3 separate regions of the Homo sapiens genome follow, and all the other regions are linked to region 2. Evidence: promoter capture Hi-C in 16 types of primary human blood cells and fetal thymus (Javierre and others, 2016). All regions are on one chromosome and are shown on one strand. The core of a region is centred on a gene start or on the middle of the fragment in contact, and the rest is flanking DNA. Distances in the headings are between cores, read along the strand shown.

The links. Contacts are between HindIII fragments. The CHiCAGO score rates a contact against its expected background, and 5 or more counts as called.
Region 1: a contact is called between a fragment that was not itself captured here and the fragment with the promoter of IRF4 in region 2, in 1 of 17 cell types (activated CD4 T cells). The highest score is 5.7, in activated CD4 T cells.
Region 3: a contact is called between a fragment that was not itself captured here and the fragment with the promoter of IRF4 in region 2, in 4 of 17 cell types (total B cells, naive B cells, activated CD4 T cells and 1 more). The highest score is 10.6, in total B cells.

The regions. Positions count from the first base shown.
Region 1 is chr6:462,871-465,570 of GRCh38, forward strand. No RefSeq gene overlaps it. Among named protein-coding and RNA genes, the nearest start is that of IRF4, 72 kb to the left of the region's middle. The HindIII fragment of the contact is 3,475 bases long and covers 1-2,700 here.
Region 2 is chr6:390,336-393,035 of GRCh38, forward strand. IRF4 (interferon regulatory factor 4) reads left to right here and starts at 1,417. Exons shown (of 9, transcript NM_002460.4): 1 at 1,417-1,474. RefSeq lists silencers at 1,104-1,493, 1,734-1,803, 2,084-2,133, 2,304-2,353, 2,464-2,573. The HindIII fragment of the contact is 5,232 bases long and covers 801-2,700 here.
Region 3 is chr6:284,204-286,903 of GRCh38, forward strand. No RefSeq gene overlaps it. Among named protein-coding and RNA genes, the nearest start is that of DUSP22, 6.9 kb to the right of the region's middle. The HindIII fragment of the contact is 524 bases long and covers 1,108-1,631 here.

The DNA of each region.
Region 1 (2,700 bases), core at 113-2,612, 72 kb after region 2:
AAAGGGTTGGAGGTGTGCATCATGGAAATCACAAAAAATCCAGGTGTGGATTCTGGTACGTAAAGAAAGGAGTGAAAGCTAAAGCAGGCAAGGTGGTCGGGAAGCACATCCTGCAGGGCTGTCTGCTGTATCCCGTATGCAGTAAGAGCATTGGAAAGTCTTGGTGGAGGAGTAGCATAGGGTATGGTATCCAGTATCCAGATATAGAAATACTTACCACACTGTGCTGCGAGGTTGCATTTGGGTCGGAAAAGGGTGGTGGGAGGCAGGGAGGCCAGCTGGTACGTTTTCCTGGTGGCAGATGGCCAGGGCCTGCATTAGCCAGGGCAGTGATGATGAAGTAGTTGCCCATTGGACAGATTCCTCCAGGGTGAAGTTGATGATGGGTGGTGGTTGGCCAGGTGGGAGGCGTGAGGGAGAAGAACACACGGGAACGGCTGGGTTTGTGGATTATGTGCTGGGTGGACAGCAGTGTATCCCCTGACACAGACAGCTCAGGGGAGCCCTGAGTGAGGGGCAGGGAGGTGAAATCCGCTTTGAGCCCAACAACTTTGAGATCCATAAATTACACAGGTGGTGCTTAGCAGGCAGTTGGGCAGATGAATTTCGAGTCTGAGAGAAGAAGGGGTCAAGGGTGTCTTAGTGGCTAATAATTTGAGTGGGTTGGACCCCACCCCACCATACAGGCACAGCGAGTGGGGAGCGTAAGCAGAGTGATTTCTGGGGGAAAGCCTGGTGATTGTTGGAATTTAGGGGCTGTGTGGAAGAAGAGGAGCCTAAGAAGGAGACGGAAAGATGAGGAGGAAGGGCTCAGAGGGAAACAGGAAGGTGTGGTTTCACTGAAGCCACGGGGCCAGAGGAATCTCAGGAAGCAGGAAAGCACGGACTTCACTTCACATTCAAGATGTCAATAGCCTTGCTTGTCAGACTTCTTACTAAAATGCTACCCCTTAAGTAAAGTCTCACCGCACCAGCAGCAAAGGCCTGCAGAGGGAACATAATGCCGGACGCAGGAGGACGCAGTGATGGCCCGGAGGGAGGAGTATGCCGGAGAGATACCAGCTCAGGCTTCCACTTTGTTTTCCAGGCAGAGAAGCGCTGCCACCCTCCCTGGCACCTGTCTCCAGTCCTAGCGCCCAGGCAGGCAGACAGATTTCCCTCCTTCATGGGGGAGTCTGACACCTGCAACCACGTCGCAGCTCTTCCTCCGTCCTTTTCTGCACTTAGGAAAAGGGTATACTCCTAGGAAACAACCATGCAGAAAGGGGATGTGTGGGGGCTGACAGCTGGCAGTGGGGCTTTAACTTCTAGCAATTTTTTCTAAGAAAACAATGAGAGTGAATAGATATGAAGTACTAAGGAGTTCATTCATCACAAGATTGTTCTCCAACAAGGAAAATGGGCAACAATCAACATTCCCAAAGGTAGGCAAGTCCACGCCCTGCAACCCAATGCAGCCACTAAAATGAATGTCTTCATATTTTTAATAAGGCAAGATGATCATATTTTAAAGGTGGTTGCTACATGTTATGTATTATTAATTCGTTAACATCCATTTAATATGTAAGCACAGAAGAGTCCGGAAGGCTAACAGTAAAATGTTAATAGTGGTTGTCTCTAGGTAGTAGGACCATAAATTTTTTTTTTTTTGGCTTACCTTTATTTCAGCATTTTCTTCAACATTTACCAAAACGACTTGGGTTATGAAAAATTATTTGAAGGACTGATCAAAAGGTCCAAAAGCCTCATGAGATAAGATCTGAAACGTGGGTATGACCTGGCAATTTGGAAGCCACTGGTCATCTTAGTGAGGAGACTTTCCTTAGTGAGCCAGAAGGTGGAATACGGGGGATTCCGAAGCCAGTGGTAGGTGGTGACTGAGTGTGGGAGGTGTCTAATCTTTTTTATTTTTATTTTATTTTTTATTTTGTTATTTTTGAGATGGAGTTTTGCTCTTGTTGCCCAGTCTAGAGTGCAGTGGTGCGACCTCAGCTCACTGCAACCTCTGCCTCCCGGGTTCAAGTGATTCTCCTGCCTCAGCCTCCGTAGTAGCTGGGATTACAGGTGTGCACCACCATGCCCAGCTAATTTTTTATATTTTTAGTAGAGACAGGGTTTCACCATGTTGGCCAAGGCTGGTCATGAACTCCTGACCTCAGGAAATCCACCTGCCTTAGCCTCCCAAAGTGCTGGGATTACAGGCATGAGCCACCGCACCTCGCCTCTAATCCTTTTTAAAACAAACTGAGCAGAGAGTGGGCTAAACTCATCAGCGGCTGGGGTGGTCAAGCTGCCCCAATGCTTGTGCACCCCTAAAGCTGGGGTCGGAGGTTGGGAGGTGTCTGAGAATAAAGAAGATGAAGATTCAGCTGTGGCCTGAAGACAGAGGTGAAGGCTGCCATGGACACTGTGGGGGGGGGGGGGGTGGCGGGGCAGGAAGCAGGCAGGGACAGGGTTGGCCTGGACTTAAACATCCAGCTGGAAGCTGATGGGATCCAGGAATCCCAGGCAACATCTCACCAGGAATCCATCCGATGGTACCCATAAACTCGGAGAATTCAGCAATGGTTTAAAAAGGTGGCTGTTTGCAGAGGTGAGAGAAGGTCCTGTGGAAACACAGGACACAGCATGGGGGGAGCTGCAGGCTGCAGAGGTCCTCCCACCCGAGGGCCTGGAGGAGGAAAATCAAGGGCAGACTCC
Region 2 (2,700 bases), core at 167-2,666:
GACCCAATATATAAGATTAAAACAAAAACTGAGAAATAAGTGAAATCAAAAGCTTTTCAAAAGTTGCAGGTTGACCTACGGTGGTGGTGGTCTAAAATCATATAGAAACCAGAGATCTGATGGTTTACCTGAAAATGCGAAGTAAATGCACATACTCAGCATCTCAGACGATCGAAAGCTCAACGGGTGAAAGCTCAGGGGGTTAATTTTGCGATTAAGGACATCTTGGAAAAGTATGTAAAATCCCTGGTCCACTTAAGTATTATTCCTATTTTGGGCTTTTATTTATTTATTTTGAGATGGAGTCTTGCTCTGTCGCCCACCTCGGCTCACTGCAACTTCAGCCTCCCGGGTTCAAGCGATTCTCGTGGCTCGTCCTCTCAAGTAGCTGGGGCCACGCCCGGCTAATTTTTGTATTTTTAGTAGAGATGGGGTTTCACCGTGTTGGCCAGGCTGGTCTCGAACTCCTGACCTCAGGCGATCCACCGCCTCGGCCTCCCAAAGTGCTGGGATTACAGGCTTGAGCCACAGCGCCTGGCCTATTTTGGGCTTTTATACCCCACTGGTAAACTGCTTTCCTCCAGGTTGAGGTTAAAACGACATCATTTTAAGGTGAACTGAAGTCTGGAAGTGATTAAGCACTTGGATCCTTAGGGAGCCTCTCCCCGCCCCCATCTCTTTCATGCTAAGATAATTAAAACTTCGGGGCCGGGGCATTGTCTGAGTCACTTCAATTCACCAGCCTAATAGATGCAAAAGGATGTAAGCATGTCAGACACGCAGAGACAGTATTTGAATCAAGCTTAATAGCTCAAGGGAGCTGGGCCATTTCCTATTTTCTTTTTAGTGAGTGCGATGTTCTCTAAACACCGCGGAGAGGCAGGGTTCCCGGTGATGGCCTTGCCGAGGGTGCTCCCGCAACCTCCACCTCCAGTTCTCTTTGGACCATTCCTCCGTCTTCCGTTACACGCTCTGCAAAGCGAAGTCCCCTTCGCACCAGATTCCCGCTACTACACGCCCCCCATTTCCCGCCCTGGCCACATCGCTGCAGTTTAGTGATTGACTGGCCTCCTGAGGTCCTGGCGCAAAGGCGAGATTCGCATTTCGCACCTCGCCCTTCGCGGGAAACGGCCCCAGTGACAGTCCCCGAAGCGGCGCGCGCCCGGCTGGAGGTGCGCTCTCCGGGCGCGGCGCGCGGAGGGTCGCCAAGGGCGCGGGAACCCCACCCCGGCCGCGGCAGCCCCCAGCCTTCACGCCGGCCCTGAGGCTCGCCCGCCCGGCCGGCCCCGGCTCTCGGCTTGCAAAGTCCCTCTCCCCAGTCCAACCCCCGGCCCCCACAGGCCTCGGCGCCCCGCCCCGCCCCAGGCCCCGCCCCAGAGAGTTCTATAAAGTTCCTCTTTCCCACCTCGCACTCTCAGTTTCACCGCTCGATCTTGGGACCCACCGCTGCCCTCAGCTCCGAGTCCAGGGCGAGGTAAGGGCTGGAGTCGGGCAGGAGGAGGGGTGTGAGGCTGATACCAGAGAGGACCCGGAGCGCGAACCAGAGGTTCGACCTCCAGGGCAGCGCAGGGTACCCCGGCTTCGGAGCGGGAAGGGAGCGCGCCCCGTCCTGGAGCTCCGACTCCCACCCCATCTGCGCTGAGCCGGAGGCGCTGGTTTGGGCTCCAAGGCCCGCCTCCTTGGCTCTGCCCGAGCCTCCCCGCCTGCCCTCCGCGCTCCTGCGACGGGGTCGCCACAAGCTGGACGGGATGAGCTAACCGGACTGTCGGGGCCCCAGGAGTGGCTGAGGCGGGGCCGTCCAAGGCACCCACACAAGACGGCACAACTGCCTGCGAGAAACAGGCCCGGCCCTGTGGACCCCAATCCGAGGCTCCTTCCCCTGCTCTTCGTTCCTAAGGGGCCCAAGCTCACGGCGGCCTCCGGCGCGGTGCTCACCCGCTGGCGCAGGAGGAGGAGGAGCTCCACATTTGGGTCGCTCCGAGCCTTGCGTGCGGTGGCCTAGCCGGCCTGGCGCGGTCCCTGCCTCCCAGGCTCCGCAGCTGTCGTCGCCCTCTCCCGCGCCCTCCCCGCCTCCGCTCTCCCGGGCCTGCTCCGGGGTCCGGCGGACGCTCTGCGCGCGGAATCCCCCGTACTGGGGCTGCAGCCCCCGCGTCTGCGCCACTTGTCGTTTGCAGAGCCCACTTAGTGCGCGCTAGCTGGGCAGGGATAGGGGTCCTATTCGGGGCGAAGGGTCTGGATGCGAGCAGAGAAAGCGGAGGGTGGAGGAACCCGGGGCTGCGCCCCTGGAACGCCCGGCCGCAGGCGAGGTCCTCCGCGCGTGGAGGCCGCCAGGGGAGTGGAAACTGACAGAGTCGCGGGGAAGGGGCGAGAAGCGGGTTGGGAGTGAGCGAAGGCAAGCGAGAGCTGCGAGTGAGTGCGGAAGGAGGGCCAGGAGGGGTGGCGGCTGGGTGGGGAGAGAGGGTGCAAGACGAGCGGCGCGTGTCGGGAGCCTTTGGGCTGCGGGTGCGTTACAGGAGAGCAGGCGGGTAGGAGCCTTCGCGGGGGCCGAGCTCGGAAGGCGGACGGCTGTGCCCGCCCAGGGGATGCGCCCGGGCCGGCCGCGAAGGTGCCTTCTTCCGGGGGCCCGGACGACCCTGACACGGCACGCGCGCGCTTCGCAGCCTCAAAGACTCCGGGGCCTCGTGGTCACTGGCGCAGGGG
Region 3 (2,700 bases), core at 120-2,619, 110 kb before region 2:
GGGCTTGTGAAACCCTGTTACCTGGAGAGCTACCTGGGCTGAGGGACAGTATGGAGGAGGAGACTTAAGAGGGGAAATTAAAAGTGATTAATTACCAACTCATTGATGCACTCAGTCTCTCCATTTCATGAAAATCTAACAACTTTTAGGAGGTTGTCCATCTCCTTTTAAATAAATACTGTTTGAAGCATTGGAATTGCCTCAATTTAATGTTACAAGAAAAAGTTATTAGACTCTCATAATTGTAAGATGTTTTCCAGGGAAAAGATTCAAATAGAACCTGATACCTTATTGACTTGTTTGAGGAAAAGATCAAAATGTGTTTTTCTCCATGAAGAAAGATCAAAATGTGTTTTTCTCCATGAAGAAATATTGACATCGACGTTTCCTCAGCCATTATTTCCCTTCCAGAAAGCATCAATTGCCTGATCCAAGCCTTGAGCAGAAATTCGTTCCTGCCATGTGTTCCAAGCAGCTGAGTGTGCCTGGCCCTGCCCAGCAATGGGAGGCAGCTGCTCTCCTTCAACATCTCACACAGGGAATTATTTGTACCTAAAGAGGATGGTGTTTAAATGATAATTGTCTTTTTCTCATTAAAGCTAAAGTATATTTCACCAAAATATACCACAGTTGAGGGTAACCAACTGCCCCACATTGCTCGTGACTAAAGGGGTTCCTGGGACACAGAACTTTCAGTGTCAAAATCAGGAAAATCCTGGGCAAACCGTAGCACAGAGGCTTTTATACCAAATAGAAGATTGTGCCCCCTTTTAATGTGGTGACTAAACATTTTAGAAATAAAAAATTCTACCAAATTAAATAGAAACTAACCGATACAACTAAAACCATATATTTAAGAAAACAGAAAAAGAAGGCCAAGGGATTATTATTGTTAAGTCTGTGAAAGGGTTGCACTTAATCCACAACTAGAGGAAAGCATGTTCTGTTTCAAAGGAGCTGTTCTGCGAGCACTCGATTAGATGTCTTAACTTCCGCAGCCCTGTGATCCTCAGATATGTAACGTTACCAATTAGAACCAACACTTACACTGCCTCTGAAGTTCTAGAGTTGCTATTACTAAAAACACATACTTTTAGACCAAAAAGAAGCTTCATACCATGGCTTGAGTAAAACACCAACAATGCCGAGAGCTTCCTGTCCCTTTGGCTTGGTGGTTATCACTGCAACAAAAATAGTGAAATTTTGAAAGCAAAAGTTTATTTTAAATTGTACATATTTTTAAAAGCACTACAGTAAGAAAATATGTCCACATATCTCTCTGTCTTATATATCAGTTATCTCTCTGCCCATCCACTGCACCTACCCACCTGTTAAGCTGCCCTGTAAACCTCAACAAGCAGGAGGTGAACTGCCATTTAAAAGTTACAACATTTTCTGTCTGTAGAGATAAAGATCTCATCTCACCTTTAAGACAGACTGTGGCTTTGCTTGGGAAAAGTTACCATCATGGACACTTTAATTACATCAGAGGTAAGATAGGTACTGCTTTGTATTTTGGGGAGGGAGGGCAGATAAACTGTTGTCATTTAAGCCAGATATAAATGTTTTTACATTGACACATTGTTCTAGTCTGTTCAGTAATGCAAACTGTACATTGATGAAACAGGGCAAGCTTAGCCCCAGACTTTTCTGCCCACCTATTTTTTTGCAAGGGGTGTGTATGAGAGATGAGAAAGAAATCTATCCCAACCTTGTGTGATCATGCTGCAATTGCTTCAGCCTCTTCCCAGCAGTTGTCCTCATGTTAGTTGTTGTTTGCGGGGTCTGGAGTTGAGGCCCCATGTAGAAAGGGCACACAGGTGTGCAGAGAAGGTGAAAAGCACAGGTCAGACCAGGCACGGTGGCTCACACCTGTAATCTCAGCACTTTGGGAGGCCGAGGTGGGTGGATTGCCTGAGCTCAGGAGTTCAAGACCAGCCTAGGCAACATGGTGAAACCCTGTCTCTACTAAAAATATAAAAAATTAGCAGGGAGTGTTGGCATGCCCTTGTAATCCCAGCTACTGGGGAGACTGAGGCACAAGAATCGCTTGAACCCAGGAGGCAGAGGTTGCAGTGAGCCAAGATCGCACCACTTCATTCCAGCCTTGGGGACAGAGTGAGACTCTGTCTTAAAAAAAAAAAAAAGTACAGATCAACCTTCACTTGAAGGTCAATGGTCGACGGTATTCTCATGAGTAAACATGATATCCTGGTACCAGGTTGTTGCTTCAGATGAGATTGTCTCATGTGGGCAAGGACAGCTCCTCACCTGCAGACCAAGTGGTGTTTGGTTAAAAAAATAAATAAATAAAAATAAAAAGCAAGCTCTCTGTTGCAAAGAATAGAGAAAATGATCCTGGGTCCATCATCTAGCCTGAGGAACCCTTGATACATGATGATTTTTTCAGAATTCACAGGGTTTTCTTGATGAATAACTAATCAAAAGAATGATAAATATTAACACATGTGAAACCAACGGAGAGTTTATAATGACAGTGTTATATCATGTCATACGAAATGGACTTCCCCTCTCATGGTAAGTGAAATTTCTCATGGGACATTCCATTCTCTCAGGAAAACCCCTGCTCCCTGCAGCCCCCTACCCAGACATTTTTCAGTGTCTTCAGATCCAGTTCAATTTCAGTTTTGCATGAAAGAGTGAATAACAAAAACAAATGAAAGCAGTGCAAAGCTCTGC